3 separate regions of the Homo sapiens genome follow, and all the other regions are linked to region 1. Evidence: promoter capture Hi-C in 16 types of primary human blood cells and fetal thymus (Javierre and others, 2016). All regions are on one chromosome and are shown on one strand. The core of a region is centred on a gene start or on the middle of the fragment in contact, and the rest is flanking DNA. Distances in the headings are between cores, read along the strand shown.

The links. Contacts are between HindIII fragments. The CHiCAGO score rates a contact against its expected background, and 5 or more counts as called.
Region 2: a contact is called between a fragment that was not itself captured here and the fragment with the promoter of OR10AD1 in region 1, in 5 of 17 cell types (neutrophils, monocytes, non-activated CD4 T cells and 2 more). The highest score is 9.5, in neutrophils.
Region 3: a fragment that was not itself captured here is called in contact with the fragment with the promoter of OR10AD1 in region 1 in 1 of 17 cell types (naive CD8 T cells); the score reaches 5.5 in naive CD8 T cells.

What each region holds. Positions count from the first base shown.
Region 1 is chr12:48,201,922-48,204,632 of GRCh38, reverse strand. It overlaps OR10AD1 (olfactory receptor family 10 subfamily AD member 1), which reads left to right and starts at 1,341. Exons shown (of 1, transcript NM_001004134.1): 1 at 1,341-2,294. The coding sequence starts at 1,341. The coding sequence ends at 2,294. The region is part of intron 1 of LOC102725258 (a long non-coding RNA gene); the gene reads right to left. The HindIII fragment of the contact is 3,232 bases long and covers 1-1,872 here.
Region 2 is chr12:48,342,608-48,345,532 of GRCh38, reverse strand. ZNF641 (zinc finger protein 641) reads left to right here. Exons shown (of 6, transcript NM_001172681.2): 4 at 59-188; 5 at 821-934; 6 at 1,806-2,925. The coding sequence ends at 2,560. Among named protein-coding and RNA genes, the nearest start is that of ZNF641, 6.8 kb to the left of the region's middle. The HindIII fragment of the contact is 4,744 bases long and covers 1-2,925 here.
Region 3 is chr12:48,430,740-48,433,735 of GRCh38, reverse strand. It overlaps a transcript of C12orf54 not described here. Among named protein-coding and RNA genes, the nearest start is that of ANP32D, 40 kb to the left of the region's middle. The HindIII fragment of the contact is 168 bases long and covers 1,242-1,409 here.

The sequences.
Region 1 (2,711 bases), core at 92-2,591:
AGGAGAGGAGAAAATAAAGAGAAATGGTTGGCAGAACTGAAAGTTAAGCAGGAATATACTTATCATCTATAAGCATCTGAAGATGAGGATGGGTGCAGTAGCTCACATCTGTAATCCCAGCACTTTGGGAGGCCAAGGCAGGAGAATCACTTAAAGCCAGAAGTTCAAGACCAGCACAGGTGACATAGTGAGTACCTGTCTCTATAAATTCTTAAAAAAAAAAAAAAAAGTATAAGCATCTGAAGGTGGAAGGGATCTGATACATCTTAGCTCCAAAACAACATGAAAAGTATAAGACAGACTTAATATGAACATAACAACTTCCTAAAAGTTACAATAGAGAGATAAGAGCATAAGAATTGTGACCGCTCATTCTTTGAAAATGGAAAAAGAACAAGATTTGTTGCCAGAGACAAAGAGACAGTTGAAAGTTCTCTGAAGGTCCATTCTAGAAAGGTTAGATATATGCCCTGCTCATAGCTTCCCTTTTCACACAGGGATGGTTGGATCCTTTCCACCCAATTGTGTGTAACCGTAAATTCCAGCCCCAGGAGGAAAACCATCTCCTATTAGGAAGGCATGCATGAGCCCCCACCCAGCCCTCAGCTCCAGCATGCACAGCATGGGTGGCTGCGGTAGCAGCAGCAACTGCTGGGCGAGTGAGTCTGGGAAGAGGTGGGTGACTGGGAAGAGCTTGACATGACTGTCTCCAAAAAGGTGCAAATCACTGTTAGCTGAGGGACAATTGTGAGGATTAGAATGTTTTTATTTTCCCTGAAACTTCAACCCATTCATCATTTTAAATTAGGTACACAGAGGTTGAGCATTTTTGCTTCTAGAAAAATACACCTTCAAATATCTCAAGTGCTTCCTAAATACAATCTTCTATAACCTGATAGCCACCAGCCCTTTCCCTCACACACTCCATTCTTCAATTCCTAAAACTTTTCCTCAGTTGGCATGGTCCCAGACCCAATTATCTTATTTTTTCACCTCTGAATACATCCTGGTTAATGGCTAATCCTTCAATATTGAGGGCTCTGGAGCAGATGCAATACTTCACTTGATGCCTGATGAAACCAGAGTAAAGAACATTACAACCAGCACTTTCTTCATCTGTTGATATTATGATTCTATGTATGCAGCCTGTGATGACCCTGGCATTTTCACCACCCCGTAACACTGCCAAATTACTAGTTTACTAAGTTCCAAAAGGTTGACCACCATTCATCCATCCTGTTTTATAATTGGGCTTCTGGGACCAAGTGGGTACCTTCTATTACCCCACAGCTATACCCTTGTGCTTTTCCCATCATCTTTCCTCCTCAAACAGGCCCCAGATGCTAAGGAATGGCAGCATAGTGACGGAATTTATCCTCGTGGGCTTTCAGCAGAGCTCCACTTCCACACGAGCATTGCTCTTTGCCCTCTTCTTGGCCCTCTACAGCCTCACCATGGCCATGAATGGCCTCATCATCTTTATCACCTCCTGGACAGACCCCAAGCTCAACAGCCCCATGTACTTCTTCCTCGGCCATCTGTCTCTCCTGGATGTCTGCTTCATCACCACTACCATCCCACAGATGTTGATCCACCTCGTGGTCAGGGACCACATTGTCTCCTTTGTATGTTGCATGACCCAGATGTACTTTGTCTTCTGTGTTGGTGTGGCCGAGTGCATCCTCTTGGCTTTCATGGCCTATGACCGTTATGTTGCTATCTGCTACCCACTTAACTATGTCCCGATCATAAGCCAGAAGGTCTGTGTCAGGCTTGTGGGAACTGCCTGGTTCTTTGGGCTGATCAATGGCATCTTTCTCGAGTATATTTCATTCCGAGAGCCCTTCCGCAGAGACAACCACATAGAAAGCTTCTTCTGTGAGGCCCCCATAGTGATTGGCCTCTCTTGTGGGGACCCTCAGTTTAGTCTGTGGGCAATCTTTGCCGATGCCATCGTGGTAATTCTCAGCCCCATGGTGCTCACTGTCACTTCCTATGTGCACATCCTGGCCACCATCCTCAGCAAAGCCTCCTCCTCAGGTCGGGGGAAGACTTTCTCTACTTGTGCCTCTCACCTGACTGTGGTCATCTTTCTCTACACTTCAGCTATGTTCTCTTACATGAACCCCCACAGCACACATGGGCCTGACAAAGACAAACCTTTCTCCCTCCTGTACACCATCATTACCCCCATGTGCAACCCCATCATTTATAGTTTCCGCAACAAGGAAATTAAGGAGGCCATGGTGAGGGCACTTGGAAGAACCAGGCTGGCCCAGCCACAGTCTGTCTAGCAGGAAGGCCCTGAAAGGAAAGCTCCTTCACCTGGGGAATGGGAGAGTTACCCCATCCCCAGCCCTGGCAGATGAGTAACTCTCCTATGCTGAAAGGCTCCAGGAAAGAGCGTTCATGGCTTCCTTGGCACTAGAATCAGACCTGAAAGTTCCTCCTGATGTCCAATGTCCTGATGTTATCTCTCTGACTTCACTTCCACATTGTTTTTTCTTGGACCTTCCTCGGGAGAATTTCGGATTTTCCTTAGTTTTTTTCCTCAGTTTCTTTTCCTCTTAAGTTCTCACAACAGGATTCAATAAATAAGTGCACTTAACTCCATTTTATTTGTATATACCTTTACATGCTAGTCCCCCAACCTGAGTTTCGTACATACATTTAGAAATAAACTCTTTTATTTTTCAGCTCTTCATTTTACT
Region 2 (2,925 bases), core at 50-2,549, 140 kb before region 1:
TGAATCACATTTTCCTTAAAAAACAGCTGCTGACAGAAGATGCTACATTTTGTTTCAGGGCCTGGTAACCATCAAGGATGTGTCACTGTGCTTCTCTCAGGAGGAGTGGCGGAGCCTGGACCCCTCTCAGACAGACTTTTATGGAGAATATGTCATGCAGGAAAACTGTGGGATAGTAGTCTCTCTGAGTAAGCATGACCTTCTCCAGCCACTAGAAGATTGGACTCTGGGAGGACGGAGCCATCTGCTTCAGGGCTATTGGATAGTGTCTGTCTAGGACTCTTTATGTGGCAGGGAATCTGTCTATGCTTCCGCTGGAGAAAGAACACTAGGGCCAATCCCAAGAGAATGAGAGTAAATATCATTAAAAAAAAAAAAGTAAAAAAGCAAATGATGCTTAATTGTGGAGTAGAACTTGAGGTTCTTCTTGGTTGGGAATTAGGAGGTTCTCATAAAGCAGAGAGAACTGGAACTGGGTCCTTGTAAACTTGGGAACCATGTAGAGGAAGATAGGGATGCAGGGAGTAGGACTGTCGTAGTAGGACTAAAGTGAAGTTACGCCCAGAAAGGCCAGCTGGGCTGGAAGTATCTGAGTGGAAGAAAACAGGTTCATTGGGAAGGAGAGTGATTTTCTAGGCAGAGAAGAGGGACTTAACAGAAATGGGTGGGGGAAGAGGTTGGGGTGGGGATATGTTTCTTTCTTGACCTTCTTTTGTCTAGAGTTCCAAACAATAGGAAACAGTTTTTTGTATTTTTTTTTCAGAAATATAGAATTGCTGTTGAACTAATTGACAGCTCTATTTTCCTTTCCCATGAGCAGGATTTCCAATTCCCAAACTGGACATGCTTTCTCAACTAGAAGGAGGAGAAGAACAATGGGTCCCTGACCCCCAGGACTTAGAGGAGAGGGACATTCTGAGGGTCACATATACAGGTAAGAACCTAGAATAGGCTTTCAGCCACTTCCTTCACAGTTCGGGACATCATCATTCCATGTTCGTTTAATCCCTCCTCTGCCTCAGAGAGTTCCAGAGACAAAAGGTTTAGAGATTTTTTTCTTCAAAAGCAAGGGAGTGTAATAGAATGATGTAGCAGGCACTTTGTGGATTTGAATTCTGGGCTGTAGTTGTGGGACCTTGGAAAAGTAATAAAACTCCCTTTGGTTTCTTCATCTGTAAATTATTGTGAAAATTAAATATATGAATATATTAGAATATTAGAATAGAACAGTGCCAAGCACATAATAAGCACTCAATAAATGTTAGTTGTTGTTATTGTTGATATTGTTGTCAACCTCCCACCCATTTCAGGAATGCCTTGAGGACTGCCGACAGGTGTCATTCAGCCAGTGACAATTGCGGCACATTCTGTAATTCTCTCCATCTATGCTTAGATAGAAAGATGCTGATTAATAGTAATATACAGTAGTAAATAAATAATGGTAATAAATAATAACAATAACATATACAATTTACTAAGTACTTAAACTATGTGCAGGTTCTGTGCTATCTATCTTATAACTGCCGGAGAGAGAGGTATTATTCCAATTTTACAGAAGAAATGAAGGTTTAGGGAAGTTAAGTGGGAAAGCTGAGATTCCATCTTAGGTAATCTGCCTCCTAAGCCTAGGCTTTTAACCTCTATATCTATTGCACTGTCTTGTACGACATTAGACTATGTTCTCTCAGCCCTTCTGGGGTCAAGTCTGGGCCCTGGCAGGTATCAGACAACCTCATTTGTGACTTAGGCCTCAAGCACTCTCTTGTGACTCTTCTCTTGGGGTTGGTATTTCCCCTTCTCCGCAGGAGATGGAAGTGAACATGAGGGGGATACCCCTGAACTAGAAGCAGAACCTCCCAGAATGTTATCCAGCGTGTCTGAAGATACTGTTCTCTGGAACCCGGAGCATGATGAGAGCTGGGATTCCATGCCCAGCAGCTCCAGAGGAATGCTCCTGGGGCCCCCTTTTCTTCAGGAAGATAGTTTCTCAAACCTGCTGTGTAGCACAGAGATGGATTCCCTGTTAAGACCCCACACATGCCCCCAGTGTGGGAAACAGTTTGTATGGGGTTCCCACCTTGCCAGGCATCAACAAACACACACTGGGGAGAGACCCTACAGCTGCCTCAAGTGTGAGAAGACCTTTGGGCGAAGACATCACCTCATCAGGCACCAGAAAACCCACCTACATGACAAGACCAGCAGGTGCTCTGAGTGTGGTAAGAATTTCCGATGCAACTCCCATCTGGCCAGCCACCAGAGAGTGCATGCAGAAGGCAAATCCTGCAAAGGCCAAGAGGTTGGAGAGAGCCCTGGCACAAGGAAACGGCAGCGTGCCCCACCAGTGCCAAAGTGTCACGTGTGCACTGAATGTGGGAAGAGCTTTGGCCGAAGGCACCACCTTGTGAGACACTGGCTGACCCACACTGGGGAGAAGCCCTTCCAGTGCCCTCGCTGTGAGAAGAGCTTTGGCCGAAAACATCACCTGGACAGGCACCTGCTCACCCACCAGGGACAAAGTCCCCGGAACAGCTGGGACAGAGGAACATCTGTCTTTTGAAATCTGTTTCCACTACAGCTATGGTCAAGTCTATCAGCCGGTGCTACCAGGAGTCACTGCCAGGGCTGCCGTTCTCCTGAACCCCAGTGGCCAGAATCATAAGCCCTGACCCCATCCCTAGAAAGATGAGGTCCCAGCAATGGCCAGAGCATTTCTCACCAGTTCTGTGAGATAGCACATAAAAATAGAGTTCTTTGGGCAAAACTTTTGGGAAGCAATGCATCCTACATGGGCTGATATTCAGCCTGAGCTGTTCTCAAGAGGAGAGTGGTACTGGCAGTTTATGGCTGAAATCCATTCTGATTGGTTGGAGTCTATGCTATACCAGTTGTTAAACATTTTGAGTATCACTCTTGCATACTGTT
Region 3 (2,996 bases), core at 76-2,575, 230 kb before region 1:
GTGGCTCACACCTGTAATTCCAGTACTTTGGGAGGCCAAGGTGGGCAGATCACAAGGTCAAGAGATCAAGACCATCCTGGCTAACATGGTGAAACCCCGTCTCTACTAAAAATACAAAAAATTAGCCAGGGGTGGTGGTGGGTGCCTGTAGTCCCAGCTACTCAGGAGGCTGAGGCAGGAGAATGGTGTGAACCTGGGTGGCGGAGCTTGCAGTGAGCCGAGATTGAGCCACTGCACTCCAGCCTGGGCAACAGAGCAAGATCCTGCCCCCCCCCCCCCCAAAAAAAAGCTTGTTGCACAGTAACTGTACTTTGAATGTGTAAGTTGTGAGTCAAGAAATGGAGAATCCATTTAGGATAAGTTCTCACCAGAGGGATCCCACTGCTAAGGCAGTTCAAAATAGTTTTTTGAATAGAATCGCCTATCATGCAAAGGTCAGTCTTTCCTTCCTGGTGAGCCTAGTTCTGGTCCATGAACGCACAAGCACTGTAGCCGTGGCTGAGCAAGGTGGTGGTTATGCAAACGGCAACATTTTCTTTCATTCACCAAGGCTGATCTGCTGTTGCCATTGGTGACAGGTATTTTGATAAAGGTCACACATAAATTTTGCCAGATATATTACCAGATACCATCTATTTTTTGTTCCTATTGTGAATTAAAAATTCAGATATATTTACTACTTGGTTATTTCTGATGTATAGGAACGTTGTGGTATTTTGTACATTGATCTTGTATCTGTCAAGTTTGTTGAACTATCTTTCTAGTACTACTGTCTTGTTTATACATACTATTGGATTTTAACATTACATTTTAATTATTTTATCTTAAATTAGGGTAAGATTTTTTATATGCTTTTTTTTTTTTTGTAGAAAAAGTTTCACTCTTGTTGCCCAGGCTGCAGTGCAATGGTGTGATCTGGGCTCACTGCAACCTCCACCTCCTGAGTTCAAGCGATTTTCCTGCCTCAGGCTCCCCAGTAGCTGGGGTTACAGGCATGTACCACCACGCCTGGCTAATTTTGTACTTTTAGTAGAGATGGGATTTCTCCATGTTGGCCAGGCTGGACTTGAACTCCTGATCTCAGGTGATCAGCCCACCTTGGCCTTCCAAAGTGCTGGGATTACAGGCATGAGCCAGTGTGCCTGGCTGTATGCAATTTTTATATATCTCATTTTTAAAGTTCATGCAGCAGCCAGGACCTCCAGTATAGATATCTTTCTGTTAGGATCAATGAGAAAGCTTCTCATGTTTCAGCATTAAGGATGATGTTCTATTTTTGATGAATATCTTTAAGTTATTAAGAGAGTTCTTTTTTGTTTGTGTTTTCTGAACCTATGGATTATATTGAAAGGAGAGTTCTTTTCTAAACATATTTTGCTAAGAATTGGTGTGAGATTTTATCACAAGCTTTTTCTGCTTCTATTGAGGACTACGGTTGTTTCTCTTTTGTTCAGTACTGTATAGTGTCTGTCACACAATAGGCATGCAATAAAAACATTTTGGAAAAAAATAAATTCATTGAAATGGTTATATGGTTTTTGTCATTTAATTTGTTAATAACAAATTGTATCAGTGCATGTTCTGTTTTTGAAGAATTGTTGCATTCCTGGAATCAGCCTACTTAGGTAGAGTATTAAAAACTTAATTAACTTTTACCAGTATTTAACTTAGGAATTTCCTATTTGTATTTATAAGTGAGATACTATAATTTTTTTATTGCATTCACTCCATCTTTTCTTTTTAAGAACTTTATTGAGATTATAATTTATACATCACAATATTCAGCCATTCAAAGTGCACAAGTCAATGGTTTCTAGCATATTTACAGAGTTTTGCACCCATCACTACCACCAATCTCAGGACATTTTGTCATCCCCAAAGAAATCTCACACCTATGGGTAGTCACTCTCCAATCCCATCCCCATTCTTGGCCCTAGAATTCCACTAAACTACTTTTTATGTATATAGATTTGCCTATTCTAGACATCCAATACTGATATCAATAATATGCTTTCATTCATCTTTGTATTTTCTTAAAATATTTGCTTAAAGAAGAGATGATCACTTTCTCGAAGGTTTTTATAAAACTCATCTTTGACATTTTAAGGATTTCTTGTCTTGTTGAGAAAATTTTTTATTTCTAATTTAATTCCTTTGATGATTATTGTACACTTGTGTTTTATATTTTGTTAGTGAATCAATTTTGGTGATTTGTAATTTTCATCACTATTTTTCATCTAATTTAATTAGTATTTTGTTTCTCATAATATTCTCTTATAATTTTTAAATATTGACTCATGTATTCAGCATTCATTTCATTTGAAAATGAAAAGTTTCCAACATACAGCAAAGTTAACAGAATTTTATAGTGAATACCCAGATAATCACATCTAAATTTTATAATTAACATTTTAATATACATTCTTTTTTACTTTTTATTTTTCCATAGGTTATTGAGGGTACAGGTGGTGTTTGGTTACATGAGTAAGTTTTTTAGTGGTGATTTGTGAGATTTTGGTGTACCCATCACCTGAGCAGTACACATTGCACCCTATTTGTAGTCTTTTATCCCTCCCCCACCACCCTTCCCCACAAGTTCCCAAAGTCCATTGTATCATTCTTATGCCTTTGCATCCTCATAGCTTAGGTCCCACATATGGGTGAGAACATACAATGTTTGGTTTTCCATTGCTGAGATATTTCACTTAGAATAATAGTCTCCAGTCTCACCCAGGTTGCTGTGAATGCCATTAATTGATTCATTTTTATGGCTGAGTAGTATTCCATCGTATATATATACCACAGTTTCTTTACCCACTCGTTGATTGATGGGCATTTGTGTTGGTTCCACGATTTTGCAATTGCAAATTGTGCTGCTATAAGCATGCATGTGCAAGTATCTTTTTTGTGTAATGATTGATTTTCCTCTGGGTAGATACTCAGTAGTGAGATTGCTGAATCAAATGGTAGTTCCACTTTTAGCTCTTTAAGGAATC